2 separate regions of the Homo sapiens genome follow, and region 2 is linked to region 1. The links are contacts of gene promoters, found by promoter capture Hi-C in blood cells and fetal thymus (Javierre and others, 2016). All regions are on one chromosome and are shown on one strand. Each heading gives the region's core, a stretch centred on a gene start or on the middle of the fragment in contact. The rest is flanking DNA. Distances are from core to core; before and after follow the strand shown.

Region 1 (4,101 bases), core at 1,417-3,916:
TTCAACTAAAGGACAAATTAAAGGGGGTACTTTTCTCCTCTTCTGTTTCTTCTTTTTTGAAATAAAGAATAAGCTTTTCCAAAGCTAGAATTGTTTCTAGCACCTATTCCAACCCAGTACATTATCATTGATCTGAAATGTGATGATTATTGGAATGCATAAACATTGACGTATTTTGGAATGTATTAAAACTGAAATGGATAAAAATTAGTATATATGTTTATTTTGTTCTATCTCCTTTGGTTGTATTTTTCTCTGCAGTATTAAACATTTGGAAGAGACTAAAGGTATGCAAAAATAATGTCTTATTTTCATTATGTGTGCTTCCATTTGACACATGGGAAATTAGATTAATTTCACTATTAAATAGTACTTTATACAAATCTTAATATGTTGATTTCTTCAATAGTTAATCATATTCTGCCTCTCATTTCATGTTGTTTTTCTCATTATTTCAAACTAGGTAACTTACCTGTTGAAGACTAACATTGCATTTAATGCATTAAGTTATAAATGGGCCAGCATATTTGAAATCTAAGCATGTTTGCTTAAGTTGGATTGTAATACGTATTTCCTTTTTACTCTGTCTCCTGTAAATAACCTTTATCCTGATTATGTTTACTTACATAATTATTGATAGTAACCTACAGTTCTGATTTCTGCTGTCTTGCTGCTATTCCCTGGTTACTTCAGGTGACTCAAAACTTGGTCCTTTATAAAATTAAAGAAAAAACCACTTTCTTAAAAGGGCTAATGAGTGGTAGCTGGGTTTTCATTAGAGCTTAATTTTCCAAGGGGTTGTACTCCTAGCTGAGAGTTTTTGGTCTACTTACTGGGGAAAAATCATACTATGCTAAACCCAGTTTTTATGATGTTTAATTAAAATTATCCCTGTTACATGATTCAGTCATGTTTGAAGCATTTTATAAAAGGGGAGGTTGTCTTCTCAAACTCTATTTTCAAATTCAAATTTTTATGTAGTGAAAAAGTCAATTCCAGTTTGTTTCTCCCTGCATGTAGTCCTTTTATTCCTCTTATGCAGGGTATAAAATTGTAAGACTCAGAAGATTTACTGGAGTATATTATTCTAACCAGTTAACACATTTCAGGGGGCTTAGGTGGATGAGAGGAGGAGATAGGACCTATCTTTAGAAAAGACAGACAAGGTGGGATGATAGAGCACCTCTGTCTTTTGGGAGAGGCCTTGGTAAGCGAATCATCTAAGTCACATTAAGGGAGTCCTGATGTTCTCCTTTCATAGGAACCAACTTCACAAGCATTTTTAAGTAAAAAATGATGTCAATTACAAAACATTTCTGGTGAAGCAAGTACTCAAAAATATCTTATACTGTTTAATCAGGTAGTGGCTGTGTATAATGCCTAGGACAGTAGGTATTCGATAAACTTGTGTCTTTTTATTTTTTTTTTTATTTTGGAGATAGGGTCTTGCTCTGTCACCCAAGCTGGAGTGCAGTGGTGTGATCATGGCTCACTGTAGCCTTGACCTCCTCGGCTCAAGCAGTCCTCCCACCTCAGCCTCCCAAGTAGCTCAGACTACAGACATGCACCATCCCACCCGGCTAATTTTTTTTTCTTTTTTGTAGAGGGGGTTCTCACTATGTTGCCCAGGCTGGTCTTGAATTCTTGGCCTCAAGCAGTCCTCCTGCTTCAGCCTCCCAAAGTGCTGGGATTACAGGCATGAGCCACTGTGCTTGGCCTCAATAAATAATTGAATCAAAGAAAAAATATTCTTGGTATTATTACATGATTTAAAAAACAATTCAGATTGGTCTTTCCACATGAATTTTTACCATATCCTCAGGGGAGACACTAGCAGTAATAAAAGTAAGCCAGCTTACAATAACTCACTAGCAGTTTTATTGCTTAAATATTCAAACTACAATATTTTTTCTGCAGTTATTTGAAATGTCTTTGTCTTTAAATGTTTATAAGCAGTCAGTAAATACTTTACCAACTTAACTTTTAAGTACTTAGGTGACTTAGAATATAAGCCAAATATATCTATATACATATAAAATTAAGGAGAGAAATAGAAAAATACCTGGCAATCCTGCTCTCTTATTCAGTGTGATATTTTTAGTCATAAGTTGTTATGAAAACACACTACAAAAGCAGTTTGATACAGGTCTCCTTTCTATATCCAGATTTTATAGTCTGCAGTAATAGCTAGCTATTATTGATTGGTTTTAAGAAAATATCCACTTGGGTCAAAATATGTGTACCTGAACCATGTTAAAGAGCTGTGTTCATTTAAGTTTCTCTTTTCATTTTGCTTATATAATCAATACAGAATGGTTAGAGAACGAATGTTGCTTTTGGTCTAAGTATCAGATTCTTTTATTGAGCTATGGAATTTGCATATCTGTACATTTAGTAGGCATGGTTAGAACTCTTAAGGTTTTAATCCACATTATCTCCTCTTTCCTGAGTTTCTAAGAGCCATGATTATGAAGCCTCAGCAGTGTTTTTAACAAAGTACACTGTAAATTGTAACCAGAAGGCAGCGGCTTTAAAGGAGTGCTTATTTGCCTAAATGGCTGTTGACATACTTAATAGTTTTGTATCTGATTCTAGTATGCTAAAGCATTTCAGTATTATGAGAATACAATTTACACACTGGATCCCCTTGTACTTTTTCTTTCAGTTGTCAAAATGTTACCATTATTGCTGGGATTCTAAGAAATCTCTACAAATGCCTCTGATGACATCAGAAACAATTGGTTCTAATCCTGTGAACTCTCTTGTGAAGAAAGCATGAGACTCCTTCGGTTTAGAAGCCATATCTTTCAGGTCATCCAGAGGTGCCCAAGCCACACCAACAGAGAAGATAGTGATTCCTACAATGAAAACATTTTAAAGTGAATTGAAAATCAGGTCTAGCTAATATATGGAATTATGTCTATATGTTTTCCATACACTGTTACATAGTTGCAGCGAAAACTGCTTACTAATTTCTGGACAATTAAATCCCCTGAACAAATTAAGTTTTCACAGTCATTGTGACGAGAGTGGCAAAAGAGTGGTCCAAACCAGAAACTCTGCTATATCTGTAATTCGCCACATTAACAGGTAAGTCATCACTGATAAGAAATAATTTGATAAAGTTCAATATCCATTAATGACAGAACACACCTATAAACTAGGAATAGAAGAAGACTTTTAACCTGATCCACAGTATCTTTTTTAAAATCCTACAGTAAATGCGGATGGTGAAAATTTTCCGTATGAGGTTGGCCTGCATCAAACAGTATACTGGAGTCAGAGTCACAATCCATTAAAGCAAGGAAGAATGGCACAAGAGATGGGATAAGTAAATAGCAAAAGTGTTCAAAGGTTGCATTGTTTGAGGAATGGTGACTAGTCCTCTGATAATGAAAAATCCTCTTCCATTTCAATCTTTATATTGGCAAACTGTCTAATAATCAGAAAATGTCAGCCTATAATCCCAAAGCAAAACTAGTGACTAAAAAGTACTGCCCAAGAGGGATCTTATGAAACTGGAGTAATTTCTTCCAGTTTCATTGAGGTATTCTATTTCCATTCACTTTAGTTACTAGAAGGCTTTTAGTACAACTGTACATTTAGGGTAATAATACATTAGTTGGATTCACCCCAATCCCAATTGTAGAAGTTTTCATTTAATCTTTTTTTTTTTTTTTTCTCAGACAGGGTCTGGCTCTTTTGCCCATGCTGGAGTGCAGTGGTACAATCAAGGCTCACTGCAGCCTCAACTTCCTGGGCTCAAACTATCCTCCTCAGCACCCCCATCCTCAAATAGCTGGGACTACAAGCGCATGCCACTAAGCCCAGCTAATTTTTAAATTTCTTTGTAGAGATGGGGTTTCACCATGTTGTTCAGGCTGGTCTCATCTCGAACTCCAGGGCTCAAGCGATCCATCTGCCTCGGCCTCCCAAAGTGCTGGGATTACAGGCATAAGCCACCACACCTGGCCTCATTTAGCAGATTCTTAGTGTAGAGTACCATCTATCTAATGCTGGGTGCAATTTTCTATAACTTTTGGAGTTTCTGTAATAGTTTTCCTCTACAGATCTAAGGTTTCATTCCCCTTCTAGTGGTAT
Region 2 (4,454 bases), core at 943-3,442, 470 kb before region 1:
AGATTATGATAGCAGGATTATGTTCAAAATAAAATGTATTTCACTTTAATGATACACGGTGAAATATTTATGGATGAAATGATGTGCTGCCTAGGGTTTTCTTAAAAATAATGTGGAGAAATGTGGGATCAGGAATGGGGATGTAGGTGAAATAATACTGTTGCAGCTGGTAAAGATGAATAATGAGCATATGCTGGAAGGGATAGGGGCAGGCATCATCATAGTACTATTATTTATTTATGTTTGAAATTTTCCATAATAACATGTCTAAGTTTTCTCAGGATAATTCTTTTTTTTTTTTTTTTTTTTTTTTGTCTTGAGATGGAGACTCATTCTGTTGCCCAGGCTGGAGTGCAGTGGCTGATCTTGGCTCATTGCAACCTCTGCCTCCCAGATTCAAGCGATTTTCCTGCCTCAGTCTCTGAGTAGCTGGGGTTACAGGCACCTGCCACCACGCCCGGCTAATTTTTGTGTTTTTACTAAAGATGGGGTTTCACCATGTTGGCCAAGCTGGTCTTGAACTCCTGACCTCAAGTGATCCACCCACCTTCGCCTCCCAAAGTGCTGGGATTACAGGTGTGAGCCACCACACCCGGCCTCAGGCTAATTCTTATACATTTTTTCAGACTGTGCTTTTTTAAAAAACATATCTGCTTTTGTAAATCTTTTTTTACATCTATTTTTATATTTTATGTCATGTTATACCTTAAGGTATGTACACACACACACACACACACACACACACACACACACACTCTTACACTTTGAGATGTTCTTTTAGTATCCATTCTTAACCTTGTTACTAGCAACACGTAGTTGAGCCAGTCATTTCTAGGGCAGTTTTCAAGGATGAGAAATACAGTCTTTTGGCTGTGATATGTTAAAGTTGGCCAGTGGGTGCATTAAAGCTCAACCTGAGTTTTAAATCCCATACTCTCACCAGATAATTAATAGTACTAATTGCTCTTTTTCTGTGACTCAACAGGAAACCTCTGTGCTATCCTCAGAGAGCTGGCTGCTGACTTGACTGCCCCTGATATTCAGGTGGCAGCATCTACATTTTTACTTCCACCCCTCTGTCATCAGGATGATCTTTTGATACTAAGTCCTTTCCTACAAGAGACTGACCATAGATTTATTGAAGAACAGGTATGGCCATTTTTTACTCTTGATTAGATTCAATCTGTGATCAGTGATTTTAAAACCTTATATACTTTTTTTCCCTTTTAGCTCCTGCTTGGTAATGGTGTTGCTTGCGGAAGTCTTGAATATGACCCTTATTCGATTTATGAGAAAGATGTAGAGGGAGATTCAGTGCCTAAGCCCTTACCTCCAGCACTATCAGTTATTAGTTCTGCATCCAAGCTCTTTGGGGTTGTATGCGCTCATGTGGGAGAAACTCAAAGGTAAATATCTTCAATGGTTCAGTGAATGGATAATAGAGAACTGGTGGGTAAGAAGAATGTTGCCAGAGATCTCATTAGCGTAAATGATTTCTTATAAATAACAGGTGAAGGTGAAATATAAGTTTTTGTTTAATTATTCACTTGGCTAATACTTAATAAGAAATGATTAAATGCCTAAAACCACTAGAACTGTTGTGGATACAATACTTTGCTCACAGCTTATCATCTAGCTGAAAATACAAATGAAAAATAATGACATAAGATACTGATTTATGAGCAGTCATTACAAAGACACATACTAGGTTTTTTCTTAGACTAGGTCTCATAGGCTTTCTTACCTTGGAAATTTTTTGGAACCATTAAAGGTCCAGGGATTTGTCTTCAGTTGGAGGGATTTTAAATGGTTTTTATCAGTTCACTTAAAATGAACTTTAGACCAGTGGTCCCCAACCTTTTAGGCACCAGGGACCAGTATGGCGAAAGACAGTTCGTCCATGGCGTAGGGATAGGAGGAGGTTTTGGGATAAAACTATTCCACCTCAGATCATCAGGCATTGTGAGGGGTGCACAACCTAGATCCCTCACATGCACAGTTGACAATAGGGTTCACACTCCTGTGAGAATCTAATGCCACTGCTGATCTGACAAGAGTTTGGCTCAGATGATAATGCTCGCTTGCCCGCCACTCACCTCCTGCTGTGCGGCCCAATTCCTAACAGGCCGTGGACCAGTACCAGTCCGTGGCCCACTGGTTGGGGCCCCCCTGCTTTAGAACACACACACATACACACACAAAGATAATAGATATTTAATTAACTTGATTGTGGTAATCTATTTCACAATGTATATATGAGCAAAGCCTCGTTAAAAACATCATGTTGTATACCTCATACTATGTAGGGATTTCCATCTTATGCTATTGTATGTGAAAAATTAATAAATACAAGATGTCCTCCCCAAAAAATGGACTTTGGTTTTGAAAAACCAAAGGGTGATAATGATTTCTCATTGAGAATGATAGTTTCTTAATTAGTAACTGGACATATACATTTCTCAGGCATCAAAATCCACTATCCAGGAAATTCTTGTTACTATCTGAAAAACGAAATGGGAAGTGAATCTCTCTCATAGGCTATTGTGGCTAATAATAGTTTACAAATCACTGTCATCCGCACTGATTCATTCATTCATTTCCTCTCTCTCGACCAACAACCATGCATTTGACTAGATCATAGCTTTTATTATATCTTCTTATCCAGTTATATCTTCCAGAGGATACCAGTTAGACAATTTACCTTTATCTCTTTGGTGAAGACTTAGAAAAATATTTTAATTTCATCACCAACACCTCTCTGAAACAGGTCTTGGGATGATGTGCTTTCATTGCATAGAAAAGTGAATGAAATTTATATTGATTTTTACTAGCTTCAGTTTCAAAAGATAGTGTTTTTTCCAAATGTATTTGTAGCATTTCCTGTAATACTGTAACTATAAGGTTATGGTGATAAGAGAATATATGACTGAATTGTTAATGAATGAAGAGGAAAATTACAGTGGTTTGGAATATTCAAAGAAAGATTCATGGAGAGGATGAAATTTGAACTAGTCTGTAACTGCCTTTTTATAGAGCATATAATTACTTTAGAATAATTAATTTGGATTAATATACCAATAACTACTGTGGATGAAACAGGGCTGGCCTTTTAAGCAAAGGATTTAAATTAAGCCTGTTCTTAAATGGTTCCACTATCTTTGATGGGTCTAAGGTGGAAAAGCAAAAAAGAAAATATACTTTTTACAGCCTTTCCTCTTAAAAAAGTGATTTTACTATTCTAGAGAAGTTTTCTTTTCGGATTTATTGCCCAATTGCAGTTTCAGGAAGATCCTTTCTTACTAAGTTTAATGAATTTTTTAATGTGCTCATAGTTTTTGTATCCCCACCTAAGTTATAATAATAATAATGAATATTCAAGGAAGGGGAGATTTTGTTTGTTTTGATAAAAACATTGAGAACAGATAAAAGCAAACCCTATCATTCTGTTTGGATTCTAACAAATTTGGAACAAACAGGATTCTAACTATTTTGGAAAAAAAATAGTAGGTGACCAGGCACAGTAGTTTACACCTGTAACCAAGCACTTTGGGAGGCCAAGGCAGGCAAATTGCTTGAGCCCAACAGTTCAAGAGCAGCCTAGGCAACATGCAAAACTCCTTCTCTACAAAAATAAAAAAATTAGCTGTGCATGGTGGTGTGCAACTGTAGTCCCAGCTACTGAGGAGGCTGAGGTGGGAGGTTCGCTTGATACTGGGAGTTAGAGGTTGCAGTGAGCCAAGATCTCGCCACTGCACTCCAGCCTTAGCAACAGAGCAAGACACTGTCTCAAAAATATATTTATAAAGAAGTGGCCTGGCAAGATCCCAGATACAGAAAGTGGGTTATAAGCAGTTATCCACAGTCTCCAGTAGGTGTCGTTACAGAACCAGAAGATAGAAACTACATGAATAGGGAAGTTAAGTTTCTAATTTCCTGTTATGCCAGATATGATATTTATGTAAAATATCAGGCTGTTTGCTTTTTGGCCTTACATTTGAGTTCTAGAGAAGAAAGGTCTTAATTAAAGTATCTAAATTTAAACAGCAACCGAATATTTCAAGCCATTTTGTTGTTATTGTGGTTAGCCTTATGTTTAAACAGTTGTGTAACATGTGGTTGTCCTAAGGTTGGAAATAATACTTACGTAATATAAATTAATGCACAATTTATTAATGCATATGTAATTGTCTTTTAAATTAGTTGATTCTCTCTATTCTGACTGTAGGGTTCTAACGTAAAAATGTTTACCGGTTGGAAAGTCAAGATATTTTATACAGAAAAGAAATAATATTGATCTCAATCATGTATTGTTTGTGGTTACTTTTTTTTTCTTTGAGACAGCCCAGGCTGGAGTGCGGTGGCTCACTGCAACATCCGCCTCCTGGGTTTCAAGTGATTCTCCTGCCTCAGCCTCCCAAGTAGCTGGGATTACAGGCATGCACCCCCATGCCTGG

Evidence for each region. The method cuts DNA at HindIII sites, captures the fragments that hold promoters and counts their contacts. A CHiCAGO score of 5 or more calls a contact.
Region 2: a contact is called between a fragment that was not itself captured here and the fragment with the promoter of COCH-AS1 in region 1, in 1 of 17 cell types (erythroblasts). The highest score is 5.3, in erythroblasts.

Annotation. Positions count from the first base shown.
Region 1 is chr14:30,888,373-30,892,473 of GRCh38, reverse strand. It overlaps COCH-AS1 (COCH antisense RNA 1), which reads left to right and starts at 2,666. Exons shown (of 5, transcript NR_038356.1): 1 at 2,666-3,090; 2 at 3,219-3,331. It overlaps COCH (cochlin), which reads right to left. Exons shown (of 12, transcript NM_004086.3): 12 at 1,856-2,858. The coding sequence ends at 2,683. The HindIII fragment of the contact is 10,353 bases long and covers 76-4,101 here.
Region 2 is chr14:31,355,589-31,360,042 of GRCh38, reverse strand. It overlaps HEATR5A (HEAT repeat containing 5A), which reads left to right. Exons shown (of 36, transcript NM_015473.4): 15 at 986-1,149; 16 at 1,231-1,406. Among named protein-coding and RNA genes, the nearest start is that of HEATR5A, 63 kb to the left of the region's middle. The HindIII fragment of the contact is 5,963 bases long and covers 1-4,454 here.